Linked DNA regions of Homo sapiens: regions 1 and 2 are each linked to region 3. Evidence: promoter capture Hi-C in 16 types of primary human blood cells and fetal thymus (Javierre and others, 2016). All regions are on one chromosome and are shown on one strand. The core of a region is centred on a gene start or on the middle of the fragment in contact, and the rest is flanking DNA. Distances in the headings are between cores, read along the strand shown. Region 1 holds the start of H4C12 (H4 clustered histone 12). Region 2 holds the start of H3C10 (H3 clustered histone 10). Region 3 has its middle 2.4 kb from the start of TRA-CGC1-1.

Evidence for each region. The method cuts DNA at HindIII sites, captures the fragments that hold promoters and counts their contacts. A CHiCAGO score of 5 or more calls a contact.
Region 1: a contact is called between the fragment with the promoter of H4C12 here and a fragment that was not itself captured in region 3, in 1 of 17 cell types (M0 macrophages). The highest score is 7.5, in M0 macrophages.
Region 2: the fragment with the promoter of H3C10 here is called in contact with a fragment that was not itself captured in region 3 in 3 of 17 cell types (fetal thymus, total CD8 T cells and M0 macrophages); the score reaches 6.9 in fetal thymus.

The regions. Positions count from the first base shown.
Region 1 is chr6:27,830,195-27,833,336 of GRCh38, forward strand. It overlaps H4C12 (H4 clustered histone 12), which reads right to left and starts at 1,366. Exons shown (of 1, transcript NM_003541.3): 1 at 980-1,366. The coding sequence starts at 1,333. The coding sequence ends at 1,022. RefSeq lists enhancers at 817-926, 850-1,675. The HindIII fragment of the contact is 8,845 bases long and covers 1-3,142 here.
Region 2 is chr6:27,808,076-27,811,322 of GRCh38, forward strand. It overlaps H3C10 (H3 clustered histone 10), which reads left to right and starts at 1,976. Exons shown (of 1, transcript NM_003536.3): 1 at 1,976-2,461. The coding sequence starts at 1,999. The coding sequence ends at 2,409. H2AC13 (H2A clustered histone 13) reads left to right here and starts at 98. Exons shown (of 1, transcript NM_003509.3): 1 at 98-592. The coding sequence starts at 135. The coding sequence ends at 527. RefSeq lists enhancers at 242-441, 360-958, 1,642-2,313, 1,930-2,219, 2,314-2,985. The HindIII fragment of the contact is 5,605 bases long and covers 771-3,247 here.
Region 3 is chr6:26,549,529-26,552,705 of GRCh38, forward strand. No RefSeq gene overlaps it. Among named protein-coding and RNA genes, the nearest start is that of TRA-CGC1-1, 2.4 kb to the right of the region's middle. RefSeq lists enhancers at 1-562, 822-1,356, 1,341-1,390. The HindIII fragment of the contact is 963 bases long and covers 1,444-2,406 here.

The DNA of each region.
Region 1 (3,142 bases), core at 116-2,615, 1.3 Mb after region 3:
GGAAAGTTTTTTGTTTAAATACCAACAGGTTCCTTCCTTAAAGCAATTATTATTTTTCAAATCTAACCCACAAGGTGATAGTATCCTTAAACCAATTAAATCAGAATCTCGGGTTGGATAACCTCAAATATGACTTATTAGCACTTCCCATTAATCACTGGTCCTTCAGGCCTTTAAGTTTACTTACTAGGAATCTCACTTTTAATACCATCTTATCAACTTCAGTTGTAAATAAGAGAACACTCAAAGGCTGAGGAATTCTCAGCGGTAAAGCTCTGCCCACGTTAAGTAACAAAGGATAAGTTAGTCTTTGTTGTGATCACTTTGTTGTACTGATAAGCTACGTATTTCTACTCAAGGATTCAAATTCTCACCTTTCTCAAGAATTGGGCCAAAACCGATAAACTAAACTTATTTACGGTCCACTGATTAAAGGTTGTTGCATAATAAGTTCTTGCTATGTTCAGCAGTTGGATTCACAGCGCCAGAAACCTATAACTGCTTGACTTTCCTCCCCACTACACTGCGAAAATTGCCCCTTAAATGTAACTAACCCTAAAACCTCAACAGTATCGTGGCCAGGCGTGGTGGCTCACTACTGTAATACCAACATTAGGCATAGGCGAGGGGATTGAGGCCAGGATATCGAAACTAGCCTGGGAAACACACGGAGACCCGGTCTTTGGAAAAATAATTAGCCTTGCGTGGTGGTGGGCGCGAGGTTCCGGCTAATCGGGAGGCTACAGTGAGCCATGATGACACTGCACTACAGTCTGCGCGACGGCCCATGTCAGTAAGCTCTGGAGCACCTGAAACAAGTTGTGTTGGGTATTTTATTTACTGGAGAGCGATTAGTGACTGATGCCTACTTACAGCGACTAGAGACGCATGCTCCGATAGCAGCACAAACTCAGCAGGCGCGAACAAATGGTAAAGAGAAACTGGGCAAACAAGCATCACGGCTCCTCAGCTGAGAAAGTGGGGGCCCTAAAAAGGGCCTTTTGTTGATAGAAAGGGACGCTCAACCACCGAAACCGTAGAGGGTGCGGCCCTGGCGCTTGAGCGCGTAGACCACATCCATGGCGGTGACCGTCTTGCGCTTGGCGTGCTCTGTATAGGTCACGGCGTCCCGGATCACGTTCTCCAGGAACACCTTCAGCACCCCGCGAGTCTCCTCGTAGATGAGGCCGGAGATGCGCTTCACGCCGCCGCGGCGAGCAAGGCGCCGGATGGCCGGCTTGGTGATGCCCTGGATATTGTCGCGCAGTACTTTACGGTGGCGCTTAGCGCCGCCTTTGCCAAGACCCTTCCCGCCTTTGCCGCGGCCAGACATGACGAGCAAGAGGAGTCTCACCCAACGCTTTGTGAGGACTCTGGCCTGAGGCAGCGCCTTTATACGACAGTTGGCGGACCGAACTGAGAACCTGAAAGAAGTCGGCGGGAAGTCCCGCCCCGGTGGGGGAGGGGAAATCTAAAGGGCCAAACCGAAATAGGGGGAAAAAAAAAGCGAGCTTCTTGTTTCCGTGTTCTGAATTTTGTAACGTGCATAGTATTTTGTTACCACGTTATGAGGCTTTAAAAAATTGCTTTTGAACGCAGAAGATATACATCAATACTGTGGGAAATACAAGAAAGGACAAGAAATTAAGAAACTACAATGTTATCCCATCACACAGGCTAGTTAATCATGTATTTTGCAGAGCAGTTGCACATATTTTTCCAAGAAAATGTATACAGTGTTGTATATGGAGTTTTGTAACCTCCTTATATTGATTATAATTTAACCAATTTCTATTAAAGAGATAAAAGTGATGTTTTGGTGTCTATGTTTCTTAGGAATTATCAATAGTTATAATCAGTTCCCCAGCAATTTTTTAATCGGCTGTATTTTAAAAATAATGTTTTCCACATTCAACATAAATGTACTTTTTCTCTATACTTGGGACCAATATTGAAATTTATGATTTTATTACACCAAAATTTAAATTTTATTACATTAATATTTAAAATTGTATTAGAGGTCTCATGATTTGGTACTACGGGTCTCCGCATTATTTCCTTTCCAAATTTCCTAATCTGTTTCACCAAGGTTTCTGGACAACTTTAGAGACCTTTTGTGAAGTTTGAATAAAATCTCTTCGAGATTTTGATAATTGCATTAGCTTTAGGACTTAATTGGAATAGAATTAAAATCCTTAAAACAAGCTCTTATAACTAGAAAATTGGTGTTTGTAGGTTTTGTGTGTGGGGTTTTTTTTTTTTTTTGGAAGGAGTCTCGCTCTGTCGTCAGGCCGGAGGGCAGTGGTGCAATCTCGGCTCACTGCAACCTCCACCTCCCGGGTTCAAGCGATTCTCATGCCTCAACCTCCGGATTAGCGCGGACTACAGGCATGCGCCACCACGCCCAGCTAATTTTTTGTATTTTTAGTAAAGAACAAGTTTCACCATGTTGGACAGGATGCTCTTGATCTCTTGACATCGTGATCCGCCCGCCTCAGCCTCCCAAAGTGCTGGGATTACAGGCGTGAGCCGCTTCGCTTGGACGCTTGTAGGTTTTTAAAAAGACACTTTTATATGACCCAACTAAAGATTTGTTATCAACCATTATGGAGCAACTTTGATTCCGTATATTTGATTTTCTTTCTTATTAATAAATACAGGGTTATACTCTGAATTTTTTTTTTTTTTTTTTTTTTTGTGGAGACGGAGTCTCGCCCTTTCGCTCAGGCTGGAGTGCAATGGCCCAATCTTGGCTCACTGCAACCTCCACCTCCCGGGTTCAAGCGATTCTCCCACCTCAGCCTCCCCTGAGTAGCTGGGATTACAGGCACTCACCACCACGCCCGGCTAATTTTTTTGTATCTTTAGTAGAGACGGGGTTTCACCATGTTGGCCAGGCTAGTCTCCAACTCCCGACCTCGTGATCCATATGCCTCGGCCTCCCAATGTGCTGGGATTACAGGCTTGAGCCACTGCGCTCGGCCACTCTGAAATTATTTTAACATCAATGAAAATTATAAAACTCCTATAACTATTCTAATATAATCTCTTAGTATTCAATTCTTTGTTTAGAAAGTAGTTAAGAGTTGAAACTCTGGAAATAGAAAACTTTGGTTTTAGATTAAATGTTTACCTTTCAGAC
Region 2 (3,247 bases), core at 726-3,225, 1.3 Mb after region 3:
TATTGGTCTAAATAAAAATAAAACGTAAGCCAATCGCACAGCTTCCTTTTCGCGCCCAGTAGAGGCTATAAAATGTACGTTTTTCTAGTTTCACTTCAGTCTTTCTTGACCGTATAGATAATAGGCCTTTTGCCATGTCTGGGCGTGGCAAGCAGGGAGGCAAAGCTCGCGCCAAGGCCAAGACCCGCTCTTCTCGGGCCGGGCTTCAGTTTCCCGTAGGCCGAGTGCATCGCCTGCTCCGCAAAGGCAACTATGCGGAGCGGGTCGGTGCTGGAGCGCCGGTGTACCTGGCGGCGGTGCTGGAGTACCTGACCGCCGAGATCCTGGAGCTGGCTGGCAACGCGGCCCGCGACAACAAGAAGACTCGCATCATCCCGCGTCACCTCCAGCTGGCCATCCGCAACGATGAGGAGCTCAACAAGCTTCTGGGCAAAGTCACCATCGCACAGGGTGGCGTCCTGCCCAACATCCAGGCCGTGCTACTGCCCAAGAAGACCGAGAGCCACCACAAGGCGAAGGGCAAGTAGAAGCCTGGATTAGTTTGCAGCAACTCAATCCCAAAGGAACCAAAGGCTCTTTTCAGAGCCACCTACAATTTTGTGGAAGAACTGAGCACTATGTTTAATGTAATTTCTCGTCTTTGCCTACTTCTAAACCACTCCAAAGGTTACGTAGATCAGTCTTCGGTGTCTTGGTTAGGTAGTGACAATCTCGTTAGCTTTATAAAAAGCCTGGATAACATTAAAAGTATTAAACACGCCTTCATCTTAAGCTTAGTGGAAGAAAATTTAGTTTTTCCTAAGCTGGCATTATCCAAGTATGTTGAATTCTGTATGGTTCACCGTCGGGTTTTACTTTTAGTCTGTTGAAGCAAACATGTCTGCTTTGGGGCCAGATGTTTTCTGGGTCTTGGTAAATAACAAACCGGGCATTCGACGTTCAATCCAAATCTAGATCAACGACTTGGATTCTTCATTTCTGAGAAATATCTCTCGAATCTGTATAATTAATTGCATTTGAACATTAATGATTGAGTTGAGAATAATTATTAGACTAATTAGAACAGTTACTTATGGTGCCAGGTAGTTCTCTTTGAAGCATTTTCTGAAAATTCATTGAAATTAAAATTTCCCGAGCTTTCCCACCCCCAGCCACACAAATTGATTTCTTAGTACAGAGATGACTTAATTTGTTTCAGCATGGTAAATTCCACTTTTAAAATATCTGACTTGATGTTTTTAATCTGAATCAGATCTGGATGTACGAATGGAATAGATTCTTAAAAGAAAATGAATTACATTTCTAGAGTATTGGAAAAATAAGCTGCAATGGAATTACTTTAATCTAAAAGTGAAAAGTTCACATAAAGTTGTTTCTTTGACATTTTTTGGCCTTGAATTTCTCACATGCGAACCAGCTTTTCTTGGTTATAAAAATAGAAGTTTTTTAAATTTAAGTGGTCAAAAGATAGAAAATTGAGGGGACAGGTGTATAAGGCTGTCCTGTCCAGTATTGCAGCCACTAGCCAATTGTGGATAGTGATCATTGGAAATTCCATAGCATGAATTTTATATAAAATACACATTGCATTTGGAAAAGTCAGTGCCAAAAAGTGTAAAATACCTAACAATTTTAATTTCGATAACATTGAAATATGTTGGCTATATTGGATTAAGCAAAATATTAAAAATTAATTTTTCCTTGTTTTGTTACAATGTTCTCCTAGATAAGTGTAAATTACTTATATTGCTCTCATTTCCACTGGAAATCGCTAGTATAGTGAACAACTGTATAGCGAAAATAGAAAATAAAATATGGAGACCATGAACTGCTAAGTCTGTCAGAGGAATAGGTGAACAACAAAAATTTGAGTCCTTCGCCAATCCGGTTACTGTTGGGTAGGCCTTCAGCATACTTTTGTCCAATCAGCTTCAGACTCTCACTATAAATAAGCGGCTAGCTTTCTCTTTCTCCTGAAGTGAATCTAGCTCTGAAGGCATGGCGCGTACGAAGCAGACTGCTCGCAAGTCCACCGGCGGCAAGGCTCCGCGCAAGCAGCTGGCCACCAAGGCGGCTCGGAAGAGCGCTCCGGCCACCGGCGGTGTCAAGAAGCCCCATCGCTATCGGCCTGGTACAGTGGCTCTCCGCGAGATTCGCCGCTACCAGAAGTCCACCGAGCTGCTGATCAGAAAGCTGCCTTTTCAGCGTCTGGTGCGTGAGATCGCGCAGGACTTCAAGACCGACTTGCGCTTCCAGAGCTCCGCGGTGATGGCGCTGCAAGAGGCATGCGAGGCCTACCTGGTGGGGCTCTTTGAGGACACCAACCTGTGCGCCATCCACGCCAAGCGGGTGACTATCATGCCCAAGGACATCCAGCTCGCACGTCGTATCCGCGGCGAGAGGGCTTGAGTCTCAAGGACTCACTGATTACATACCCAAAGGCTCTTTTCAGAGCCACCCACATGCGCGCTGAAAAGATCTGTTTCTCTCAGGAATTCTTCCTGGTACTTGTTTTGCCTGTAGTAGATAGGGCCCATTTCCAGACGTTATACAATCTGTTTCGTAAGACTCAGCCTATCCCTTTTTGAATGCTAATTTTGGGAGTCTTAACATCTAATAATGTCCGGCATTTTTCCGTAAGCATTGAGTGTAGCCAAAAGTTCCTTCGTGTATTGCTCTCCCATCTCCGCAGCCCGGTTTTGACCGGATGGTGCTTCTAATTTTCTGCTAACCTGTACTGTGGTGTGTGTATATTTCTTGCCAACACGCCAGAAATAAAACTAAGGTTGTACTGAAGTTGGAAAAATTCAGGTTAATGTAGCTCATGCTGGCTAAAGTGAAACGTTCTCTCCCCGCCCCCCGTTCCTAAGCAGTGTTAAGTTTTCTTTGAATTTTTTCAAGCCGGATTTTGGGCCTGCTTAAACCACTTAAATGTAGTTAATGACAGATGGTTTGAGGTTTAAAAGTCTTCTGGAGAAAGCCCGCCAGAGAACATTCCCTTTGAAGCCCCATGTAAAAATACGTGTGGGAGAGAAAGTGTTTTCTCTGACTTCTGCTGACAGTGGCTAAAACTCTGAACTGTCAGGAGTATTCAAAATAAGACTGCCTTGTAGGTAAGCCTGTGGTAGTTTTTTTGAGCACAGGATAAAATACTTGAGTCTTTGCTTAAATGTTACTTTCTCAATGAGGCTTTGTATGACTAAATAAAATCTGTATAATCCCCACCTATTTTTTTCACCCTAGAATT
Region 3 (3,177 bases), core at 675-3,174:
TTCTCTTGTCTCACCCTGCCGAGTGGCTGGAATTACAGGCGCCTGCCACCATGTCTGGCTAATCTTTTGTATTTGTTTTAGTCGAGACAGGGTTTCACCATTTTTGCCAGGCTGGTCTCGAACTCCTGACCTCGTGATCCACCCGCCTCGGCCTCCCAAAGTGCTGGGATTACAGGCGTGAGCCACCACGCCCGGCCTAGAGTTTTTAATAACCAAATTTCTGACCCTCACATCTGAGGCACTGAGCATGGAAGAGTTGGAAAGAAGAGGGAGGGAAACTTATTTTTCTGTATCTGTTCTTGCACCACTACCTTCTTTTCTCAATAGTTGTTGTGTTACAGAAAAAGGGTCCCGATCCAGACCCCAAGGGAGGGTTCTTGGCTCTCCCGCAAGAAAGAATTCAGGGCGAGTCCGCAGTGCAAAGTAAAAGCAGGTTTATTAAGAAAGTTAAGTAGTGAAAGTACAGCTACTCCATAGACAGAGTAGGGTGTTCCTGAAACGCGGAGGAAAGTGTCCACCCTAGATACATACCTGTAAGTATGGGGAGATGTGCTCTGCTACAAGGGTCTGTGATAAAGGATTAATTTTCTTATTATATTTTGTAAGAATCGATATTATTATCTTTAAAGCAAAATTTGGAATGCCTTTGTTCTCCAGATATGGGGACATCTAGACACTCCCAAGTCTGGGTCTGTTTAGTAAACATTATTAATTTGTTCCCTTAACCATAAACATCTAGAGGCTAGGAATGCCTGACTTTCTGGGAATGCAGCCCAGCAAAAGTCCCGGCCTCGTTTTCCTAGCCCTCACTCAAAATGGAGTCGCTCTGGTTCGAATGCCTCTCACAGAAATCCCGCTAAAATGTACCTCCCTCGGTTGCGGTGAGCCGTGATCGTGCCACTGCACTCCAGCCTGGGAGATAGAGTGAGAACTCCGTCTCAAAAAAAAAAAAAAAAAATACCTCCTTCTTCTCTCAAAACTCTCCAATGGCTTCCACCCTGGGTCATCAACATGGCCTGGAAGAGCCGTACTCTGGATACCCGAGGGCGCGGCCCCAGCGCCGCGACGCCCCGCCCCTCTGGCTGCTCCGCTCTGGGATGCACTTCCGACGCCCTCTAGGCTTGGGAGTTCCGCGCCTCTCGGTGTCGCCTGGGGGGCGTGCTCCGGTTGGCGCACTGATTCCCAGTTGGGTAGGGGAGGCTTGACTGAGCTCCCACCCGGAATTTCACCTTAGACCTTTAAAGACCTTGCTCCGGCCTCCCGCGCCAGCGCTAACACCTAGTCCTCTTTAGTGGAGTTCCGGCGGAAGGGGATGGCGGGCACCCGACGGTGGTCTCCTCCCAGATGGCGAATTTCCGCGGCTTCTTCATCTTTTAGCTCCCAGGGAGCCCTCTGGCCCCAGCATGAAGCCCATGGAGCCCTTTTCAAAATTGTATTTTTAAAAGCTTTTAAAAAATACACAGGATTTTAAAGAAAGCCAATTGTACTACAAAACAGTTTTCAAACGATTAAAATAATTTCATAGAGTAATGTGTGCTTCTCATTAATGCATTAAATATTAAACATCAAGACCCGTCTTATGACTGCTGTAATTTTCAAACAGTTGTCTTGGGTATTTGTAACAACTGTATTGTGATACAAAAATATGTGATTTTTCTTTTCTTTTTTTTTAGACAGAGTCTCCCTCTGTCGCCTAGGCTGGAGTGCAGTGGCGTGGTCTCTGCTCACTGCAAGCTCCGCCTCCCGGGTTCACGCCATTCTCCTGCCTCAGCCTCCCGAGTAGCTGGGACTACAGGTGCCCGCCACCAATTTTGTTTTTGTATTTTTAGTAGAGACGGGGTTTCACCGTATTAGCCAGGATGGTCTTGATCTCCTGACCTGGTGATCCGCCCGCCTCGGCCTCCCAAAGTGCTGGAATTACAGGCATGAGCCACCACCCCCGGCCAAAAATATGTGATTTTTCTTGATGACAGAGTCGTAGTTACTTCTCTTTCAATTGTGGTTTGTTACCTGTATTAGTAAGTGAAAGATATGTTAAATTTCAGTTAGAATAGACTAGAATCAGAAATAATCAGAATGCAGTGTGTGTGTTAAGAGTAAGGAATAGTTCATGCAACTTTTGTTTCTGTTACATATGTATGACTGAATTACGATGTAAACTAAACTAAATTGTAGGTCACCACCAAAAAAATGAAAGCTACTGCCACTAGGCCCAAGTTCTGGGTGAAGAACCACGTCTGTTTACCTGGGCAACCCCATGGATCAGGAAAGCAGGGGATCAGAAAGGAGCACGCTAATAGAGAAAAGAGGGAGCCTGTGCATTTTTGTTGCTTTTCAAGAAAGAGTTTAACCTTTAACAACTTGTAGCCATTGTTATTGCAACTTTTACTCCTATTGCAGATGAAAAGCTTTGTGCGCTGTGGCTCCCTTTCCAAAAGGCCCATCTATTTTCTAAACAGCTCCTAGGTTATGAGACCTATGGTCAGCTCAAGAGTCCTTCATTTATTCGGGGATATCAGCCCGTGACTTGACCTTAACCTTCCTCTCTCTAACTGCAGTAACCTCTCCCGCCTTGTCCATAGTTTCCCTTCCGCTGTCTCAGTTACCCCCTTCAACCGTGGTCCAAAAATATTAAATGAAAATTCCAGAAATAAAAAATTCATAAGTTTCAAATAACTCCCCTTTCTCAGTAGCGTCATGAAATCTCCCACCCGCCCGAGGATCATCCCTTTGTCCAGACTATCCACGCGGTATGCGCTCCCCACATCTTAGTCACTTAGTATTCATCCTGGTTATCAGATCGAAAAAACATAGTATACTATGGTACTATCCGAGGTTTCAGGCATTCACTGTGTGTCTTGGAACATATCTCCTGCTGATAAGGAAAGAATACTGTACGTATTGGGTTAAAAATGAAGAAATGGAAATAAAAAAGGAGAAATACAGCGACACCTGAACAGGGACTTGAAACCTGGTTCCTCAGATTAAAAGTCCATGGCCATACTGACTGAGCTACCAAGCTTCATACAAAATGTCCAAACTGCATCAACCCTGGTTTATTAATCTATGTATCTGACCTAGAAGGTGATTTTAGAAGGTTCAGCTGCGATTTTAATAAGGACCTGGTAATTTAGAAATTCTTGCTAATAACAGCACAGAAGCTCAGCCATAACGAGG